Linked DNA regions of Homo sapiens: region 1 is linked to region 2. Evidence: promoter capture Hi-C in 16 types of primary human blood cells and fetal thymus (Javierre and others, 2016). All regions are on one chromosome and are shown on one strand. Each heading gives the region's core, a stretch centred on a gene start or on the middle of the fragment in contact. The rest is flanking DNA. Distances are from core to core; before and after follow the strand shown. Region 1 holds the start of DPH3 (diphthamide biosynthesis 3). Region 2 holds the start of RAB5A (RAB5A, member RAS oncogene family).

What was found. Contacts are between HindIII fragments. The CHiCAGO score rates a contact against its expected background, and 5 or more counts as called.
Region 1: the fragment with the promoter of DPH3 here is called in contact with the fragment with the promoter of RAB5A in region 2 in 1 of 17 cell types (fetal thymus); the score reaches 5.3 in fetal thymus.

The regions. Positions count from the first base shown.
Region 1 is chr3:16,263,285-16,267,730 of GRCh38, reverse strand. DPH3 (diphthamide biosynthesis 3) reads left to right here and starts at 2,788. Exons shown (of 3, transcript NM_206831.3): 1 at 2,788-2,962; 2 at 3,502-3,576. The coding sequence starts at 2,855. It overlaps OXNAD1 (oxidoreductase NAD binding domain containing 1), which reads right to left and starts at 2,519. Exons shown (of 9, transcript NM_138381.5): 1 at 2,226-2,519. RefSeq lists an enhancer at 2,647-2,956. The HindIII fragment of the contact is 11,235 bases long and covers 2,622-4,446 here.
Region 2 is chr3:19,944,491-19,948,611 of GRCh38, reverse strand. RAB5A (RAB5A, member RAS oncogene family) reads right to left here and starts at 1,515. Exons shown (of 6, transcript NM_004162.5): 1 at 1,091-1,515. It also overlaps a transcript of EFHB not described here. RefSeq lists enhancers at 231-830, 877-926, 1,447-1,496, 1,358-1,527, 1,453-1,622 and 1 more. The HindIII fragment of the contact is 3,439 bases long and covers 1,128-4,121 here.

The DNA of each region.
Region 1 (4,446 bases), core at 1,539-4,038, 3.7 Mb after region 2:
GATAGTAGTAAACAAATAACAAGATAATTATAGATTATGATGAGTATGATAAAGGGAGTAAGAGTGATGGGGTAGGTGGGGGAAATATCAAGAAAGACATCTCTCCAGTGATGACACCTTGGCTGAGATCTGAATGATGAGGAAAAGGCGGCCAAGCAAATGTTAAAGGCAGACAACTCTGGCAGAAGGACTAGCAAGAGCAAAGGTCCAACACAGAAATAAGCCCGGCATGTTAAAGGAACCAAGGCCAGTGTGACTGGAGAGCAGTAAGCTGGTAAGAGTGAAATGAGATGAAGTCCAGCAGTCTATAGTAAGGGTAAGAATTTTATCCTAAGGGTAATGGGAAGCAACTGAAAAGTCTGAATCAATCAGGAGAAGGACAAGACCTAATTTATATTTTTAAAGGACTGCTCAAGTTGCTGTGGGAAGGATAACAGAGGGAGAGGGGCAGGAGTGGAAGCAGGAAACCCAGTTAAAAGACTCTGGTCTAAGATTATAATAAGGTAACAGCTACAGAGATGGCAGAAGTAGATGAACATGACATATATTTTGGAATTAGAGCCCCAAAACTTGCTGATACATTAGGCAGGGTGTGAGAGGACACTGACAGAGAAAAGCCAAGAATGCCTCAATAAGCATAAATGCACTGAAATTAAGTAAGTTCAAAGAACAATCATGACATCTGTCAATTTAGAATCTTAGGTGTCACTGAGGAAGAAAAAGGGCTCCTCTTGCTCCAACAGGCAAAGACACCTTAGTGGTAAACAAGTAGTATACACAGAGTATTTGACCGGAAATCAGCGGAACTGGGCTCAGGTGTGACTCCTTCCTGCTTTCTAATCTTCAGCAAGTCTCCTCTTGCCATTTTAACATTACCCACGCCACCTCACTGGATTACTGAGAGGAATAAATAAAATGTCTACCAAAGTACCTGGCAAGCAACAGTGTTACTAAAATCAATCCTAATACATTGACCCCTTCTCTTCCTTGTCAAACAACCTAGAGAGGTGGAGGTTTGGTATTGCCAATAAACAACTCCTTCTGGCCTGATATACAACAGCACTCATCAAATATAGTTTGCATTATACAATTATGACCTACTTCTTTTTTTTTTTTTTTTTTTTTTTTGAGACAGCGTCTAGCTCTGTCGCCCAGGCTGGAGTGCAGTGGCGTGATCTCAGCTCACTGCAATCTCTGCCTTCCAGGTTCAAGAGATTCTCCTGCCTCAGCCTCCTGAGTGGCTGGGATTACAGGCACACCACCACACCTGGCTAATTTGTGTATTTTTTAGTAAAGACGGGGCTTCATCATGTTGGTCAGGCTGGTCTCGTATTCCTGACCTCGTGATCCGCCCTTTTAGGAATAAATGTAAAGTTTAGTAGTCATTGTAATGTTTTCTTCAAAAGTGCACAGGGATATATTATGTATATGTGTTACGTAAATGTAAACTAAATGTTATATATCATTGCTGAACCAAGTAAAGCTCATAATTTCCGTGCAAAAGTGGAACATTACATCTAAAAAGGATCTTATATCATCTCTACTCCAATCCTTTCTTAGAAGAGGAAATAAGGCCCAAAGAATGTAAATATCCAGTTGCCAGAGGTAATCAACAACTCAAGATTCCGATCCCAGATCTTCTCTCGAAAGTGCTTTTTCACTACAATGCATTTCTTCTCTACTAAGATATTAAAATGCCTAGTAATTAAGTAAGACCCAATGTAATCGGTTTTACCAAAACAGGCACTAGCACTGCTTTCAAGACAAAAATGCCTTTTATCTGCATTTCGCTTCAAGGCATACATAGGCCTCACACTGATAAACCTGCCTACTGACACCATTTCTTTCACAACGAAAAAACTGGTACTCACATAAGTAATTTGTTCCTGGGCTTTGGAGACAGACAAGCTCTTCATTATTTCCCAGGTGTATGATTTTAGTCAAGATGCCCAACTCTCTGTACCTCAGTTTAAAGATTAATAAAATGGAATAACATGTAAACTCCTAGAGTTGACAATTCCACTTAGTGCAATAGCTGGCACATAACTTCCCAATAATAAAAGGTGATGTTATTACTATTACTAAAAATCATCGTCGTTAATAATGTTATAAGCCTGGCAAACAGAAGACTAGAACTCAATCCCTGCCTTCCAGGGCTTGGTCCTTTCAGCAACACAATTTAGGGTATTTTAAGGCGTCTGGGGTGAGGAAGAAGCGGAATGTACCTGCAGCCAGGAATTAACAAGCTGACCGTCGCCCTGGGCTCAAGGTCACTCGGTGAAGCGAAATTCTACGGGAACTGTTCGTCCGTCACCAGGAAGGGAGGTCGAGGAGGCTAAGCTGCTCTCGCCTCCCCACCCCGCCTTTCCCGAGGGCCGGGAGGCTGCTACCTAGCACCTGCTGCAGCCTTCAGCGGGCTATTTAAGGCGTTAAAGCAGACGATAAGAAGCAGGGAAACTTTCCCCGCTGGCACCTAGCTTGCAGACCCGGCCACGTTTAGTTGCAGGCGCCTGGAATACTCCGCGGTCCCAGACGTGACGTAGCAGCGCGGGCGAGCCCCACATTCTATTGGTCGCTGCCGCCCAATAGGAGGAGCGGTGCGCGACCCCGCTGAGCAAGCTTTCAGTCTTCCCAGTGTCTCCGCCCCTAGTTCAGCCATCTCCATGGTGACCGCTACCGGTTATCCATTTGGCCGCGCAGGGCGGAGTTGCGTCATTGCCTATGCGCCGGAAGGGCTAGTCCTTGCCCGGCGCGACCTGATGATGCCGAGCCCAGGCCGGTTCCGGCGAAGTTAAACCCTCGGAGCTGGCCTCGGACTGCTGGGGCGTTACCCCTTCGGCCACCCCCGCTGACCATGGCAGTGTTTCATGACGAGGTGGAAATCGAGGACTTCCAATATGACGAGGACTCGGAGACGTATTTCTATCCCTGCCCATGTGGAGATAACTTCTCCATCACCAAGGTAACTTCAGGGTCCCGCCCGGCGGTTCACCCAAGCAAGCGCAGTTTGGTTCCGCCCGTTCCTTCCATCATTGGGTAGCCTTTGCTGCGCTGTGTCACCCACGCCCTCTTTCCCGTTGCTGAATCTTCCTCCTCCCGCGTCCCCCCACCCCAACTAATGCCCTGAGCTCTCTCGGTAGGCACGCAGTTCTGGCCTTAGATTAGGTCAGGGAGAGGGTGGCGGAGAGCCTCTGTCTCTCTGCCCGATCCCTGCCTTAGGGTCCCAACCTGGGATATTTCTGTCGAGGAGGGGACTCGTTTTTTGTTTCCCAGGGCTTTTGGGGCGACCGAAGCTCGCCTGACCTTCCTAGGTGTTTCCCCTAAGTGACGCTTCTAGGGGAAAATGATGTCGGCATTTCTCGCTGAAGGCCCTGGGGTTCTCACCCACCTTGGGGGGAAGGCAAGCCACCAAGAGACTTGCATCTAGGGGTGGGATAGGTTTGGGGGAGGAGATGGCGAAGAGAAGCTATCCTGACCACATGGTATTTGATTTCGTTGTAGGAAGATTTGGAGAATGGGGAAGACGTGGCAACGTGTCCTAGCTGCTCTCTCATTATAAAAGTGATTTATGACAAAGTAAGGGATATAATTTTAAAACGGGGGAAGGGTATTGTAAGTCAGTGGCAAGGACTTAGATCAGCTTGTCAGTGATGAGTGCAGGAGAATGTTTCATTGTGCTAGGTAAAGTGCGGTATTTTTTTAGGCAGGTTTTAAACACCATTGATAAACAGCCGAATAGTAAATTAAAACGTTTAAAGTTCAGATTACGTAATTTATTTTAGCTTTAGAGATAAATCTAGCTTTAGTGAAAATTATTATTTATTAAATAGAAAGTATATAGATTATTTTAGTGGACAATTTTTTATATTTCTCTTCTATTTAATATGTAATTAAAATTGTTTAGAGCTGCTAGACTTACTTTGAAGGGAACAATTGTATGGTATTTCGTGCTGGCTTATACACAGAATTCTGCATTATCTTGTTTGAGATATAATTCCTAGGTGCAGCTTTACAATTTCATTTTAGTCTTTAGTTGCCCTATTATCTTTCACCCAAGGATGTTGACAATAGAAAAAAAAAATGTTATTACTGCCCACTCCTACCCAAAGTTTTGTTCAGTACTTGGAATGGAATCTTAGGTAAGGACCTTAACACTCTCAAGGATGAAGTCCAAAATGAATATAGGGAAAGTGGGGATGAGGCACAGAGCCTCATGAGAGAAGCGGGCTATAATTTAGACTATAATTTAGAAATATAATGATTCATTCTTGTATTAAAATGTGCTCTGCAACAGAAAGCAAACGGTAAGGAAGATCAGGAGTGCTGGTCTGGGAGGAAGTTGCAGTTTTCCATAGGGTGATCATGGCAGGCCTTACTGAGAAAGGCCTTAATAGGTAAAGATTTGAAGGAGGTGAGGGAGTGAGCCATGTACATATGAGGGTATGA
Region 2 (4,121 bases), core at 266-2,765:
AAAAATTACGTGCATTCATTTGTATTCACTGCTTACTGAAACTTCTGTTTTGCAAAACAAGAATTTTGCATAATATACATTTGTAATCTTTTGAAAATAACTGTTATTCATTCTATAGTTAAAATCCTTCTAAGGGTTCTTTGATCAAAAAATTGACTGGGCACTTATTTTGTGCCAGGCACTGTTCCATTTACTTTGTTTATACAAATGCTGAGTTATCACTTCCATTTTACTTTAGGAATAAAGTTTATGAGCAGTCTTGAGTATTCCCAGAGGTGTACAAGTGTTTTTTTCTTATTATGTGAAAGGCAACTGATTGAACGCTTTGATTCCATTTAAGCAAGACAAAAACCAAGTATGTGAACTATGACGTTCAGAACTTAACAAGTTTGAAAGTCTCAGAGGTAAGCAGCTTCCAGGGAAGATAACGCCAGAGCAAGTTCCATGGTCTCTACCCAGTGAAGGAGTTCAGCGGTCCTGTTATCTTGAATTTATTTAACGCTGTAGTTCACTACCTTCCAAACAGAAAACAAGTCTCTAGACAGCCTATTTTGACGAGCCTCCCACCCACCGACACTACTCATCTTTGGAAGTTGAAGATAGGCGGAGCTCCCCACATTGACACCTGCAGTAGGCCCAGGTTCCTGCTTGGAGAGCACCTGAGTAGCTAATAGCCAACTACAGATCGCCTGGATAAGCAGCACTCGCCAGGTCCCTTGGCCTTTCCAACCTCCTCCCCCGAACCTGCCTTGCTTTGACCGAGACCCCCAGGACTGCCAGGACGGAGACCAGGCGGAACCGCGGCCTCCAGTACACTTTCCACGGCGCCATCTTGAGAAGGGAAAGGGTGACACCCGTCGCTCCCTCAGTCAGTCCCCAAATCCCGGTCTCCAGAGCCCCTGGAGGATGAGTCACCAGGGCTGGCAGAACAAGACGCCGGGTTCGATAGTTCTCTGGTCCAGGGCACTGCTGCGCGTGAGGGAGAAGGGGTGGGGGGTCTCAGTACCGGCAGGGCCGCGGACAGGCTGGGGACCGCGGATAACCTGGGGTCCAGGCCCCCGCTGCGCAGGAGGAGGGGCGGTTCGGTTACCTGAGACCGCAGCAAGCCGAGCTGCGGGGCCGAAGCTTCCTGGCAGCAAGGCCCAGGCGTGGCCCGTAGGATGAGAGTGTATCTATGGCGGTGGTGGTGGCGGCGGCGGCGTCGCCTGCTCTTAGCGCCGCTCCCCTCACACTGGACTGTGCGGGGCTCGTGCCGTGGTGCCGCCCCTGTCGGGCTCCGTCTCCGCCTCTCGCCGCTCCCCCTTCCTCTTTCCTTTCTCCTCCTCCGCCGCCGCCGCCGCCGCCGGCGCTGGAGTTCCGACTAATTCTTCCTCCTCCTCCTCCCTCTGCCTCCTCCCCTAAGGCCAGCCGCCGGCTCCTTCACGAACCAAAACACAAACACTCAAGTCCCACCGCCGGAGCCACTTCCGCTGCCCGGTGCCGGCCCCGCCGCCACGTCGCTGCACGCAGCGAACTGCGCCACTTCGTCACTTCCCATCATCGCCAGTCCGCCTGCTCCTTCCGCTTCCTCGCCCCTTCCCGAATCCCTCCCCGCCTAGGTTTGTTCGCGGGGCGGGGCGAGGCAGGATGTCACGTGACCCTGCGAGTGGCTCAGATCCGAACTGGCCGCCTTTCTCCCCTTCCCCCACCCCAGGTACGCGCGGCCACGCCCTCTCCAGCGCCATTGTTATTTAGGCTGGGGGGTCTCTGGGCTCCTGGCGGCCGGGGTCGGGGGAAATTCCTTTACTATTCTTTGGGGGAAGATCAAAATAACTTGTGTTTTTTTGTTTGTTTTTTGTGCCCAGCCCTTGTGGGAGCGGCGAGGTTCCCTAACCCCAATCCTGGCATCTCGGCTAAGGGGCTTTATTAGAGGGAACTTGTCTAGCACGAGAGAACCTCCTCCCACAAAATGGCCCTGGGGTTGGGTAGGTCGGTAAAGGCTGCTAAATCGCATTTACCCCAAGGAGGAAGAAAGGACCCTCCCTATCCCAAAAGCCGCCTTTAGGCGCCTGACAATAAGAAGTCGCTTCTGTTAAGAGTTTACGTGGTTTTGGTAGGGGGCGGGGAAGGCCAAATCCTAAAATAGTGTCTGCCTTTTATTCAGAATTTCCCTTCGCTCTTTACTGTACTAAACGCTTTACAGGAATTATCCCATTGAATTCTTACACTCGAGTCTTTCATTCTGAAACTAACTTGTTAATCGTCTGTTCCCTACATTCGAATTTTAGCTCCCCTTGGTGGTCCTCACCGCTGTAAATCTATGTCTAGCCCAGTGCCTGGCAGCCAAGTCTTCAGTTCTAGTTGTAGATGTTTTATAGGTAAAGAATTTGAGACACAAGAGATTGAGTAACTTGTCCGAGATCACGGCTGTGTGGTGCAGAAGCTGGATTCTGATCTGCGGCGGGTTGGCTCCAGAACGTGAGTTGTTGAACACAATTCTGGTGAAAGACAACCCAAGATGTTCGTTACCCTCCACGGGGGACCTACTGAAGATGTGCTGCTTTAGTTGAATCCCACACCACATTCAGTCTCTGGCGAGGCTTCAGCCACCACCCCCTCCCCAGCCTCCGCCAAAAAAATTGTTTTGATAATTTAGTGGAAGAATATTAAATTGATTTTCCTTCAGAATAAAGGCTACTTTTCAGTTTGCAGTTTACAATGTATAGCTCTGTTGTAAGGGCGAGAATATTGTCTTTGAAGTGTACCGGGTTAAGGTATCTTATGGGCGTACAGTCGGCGGCATTGTGCAATTAAGATGATTTGAACTTTGAACAGCCCGTCTTTCAGATCAACTACCTAGTTGCCAGAAGAACGTAATGTGTCATACGTAAATGATACCTGTGGCATTTTATTCTCAAGGAGTTGTTCAATATGAACTATTAATCATGGTAATAGCTCTGGGACAATCCCAGGAGGAGTCAGGAAATAGGATATGTGACATCAGTTTTGTCATGTCAACAGTATGCCCAAAACGAAACCTATTCCACTCCAAACCTGCTTCTGCTTAGAGACTGGCATTAACATCCTCCCAGTCACCCAGACTTGGAACTGCAGAATCAGCTTCACCTCTTTCTTCTCCTCACAAACCATTGTCCATTCTATCAACAAATTATCTAATCCCCAAATTTGAAGTCTAATCCCAACACCTGGTCCATGGTAGTGTTTATATAAACTGAAATTAATGCATACTGCTGTTCTTTCTGTCCATTCTTTACATTTTAGCCACTCTACTAAAAAATGTTCAATGCTATGTCATTACTTGACAGTCTAAAGTTCTTTAACTCTAGTCCCAACCCAAGTTTCTTTCATTCTATTTCTATAGAATTCCTCTCCCCATACTCTTTATTTGTTCCCTGATCACACGTATCTGGTCTGTGTTCCCTGAATATTGCCTGTGTGTTGCCATCTTGGTATCTGATCACTTTATTTTCTCCACATGGAACACTATCATTGCCCATAACTGCTGGCTCCGTCTTAGCCAGGACACCAGTTCCTTTGGACCGCATCTGCAGATACTTCTACTGGATTCAATTATTATTTTTTCTGTAATTTCACAATACTTTGCCTTACTCTGTATAATGGCTGTCTTAAAATCTGCCTTATTTTAATAGCTAATGAGCACCTGGACTTTTCTCCTTAGCCTTTCATTGAATTATAAGGTTTTTAAGGGCTGTGACCATCAGTTATTCATCATTTCAGTTCTTCACAGAAGACCCTTGACTGCTATAATAGGGACCCCCAAAGTATTGGTGAACTTAATTACATTTAGAATCACGAACATTAAGAAGACCTCACAATGAAAAACATTTGATGCTGAAATTTATAAATTGCAAAAAACTCCCTATTTCATCGTTCCAGTATGTTGCTTCTTCACTCGTTCCTGTTTAGTGATTTTGTCTTCACCTCCTTCATGAATACTTTTCACAATATTTTACAGTTTAGTCATAATGTTTGCCTGGAAGAGTGCTGCCCTGGTGGCTGGCATTTCTAAAGATCCGGTAGTAGTTTTAGAGAAATTGAAATGACACAGTAAAGCTCTGTTGTTTTATTGCCACTTGCAATATGCCTATGTTTTCTTTTTC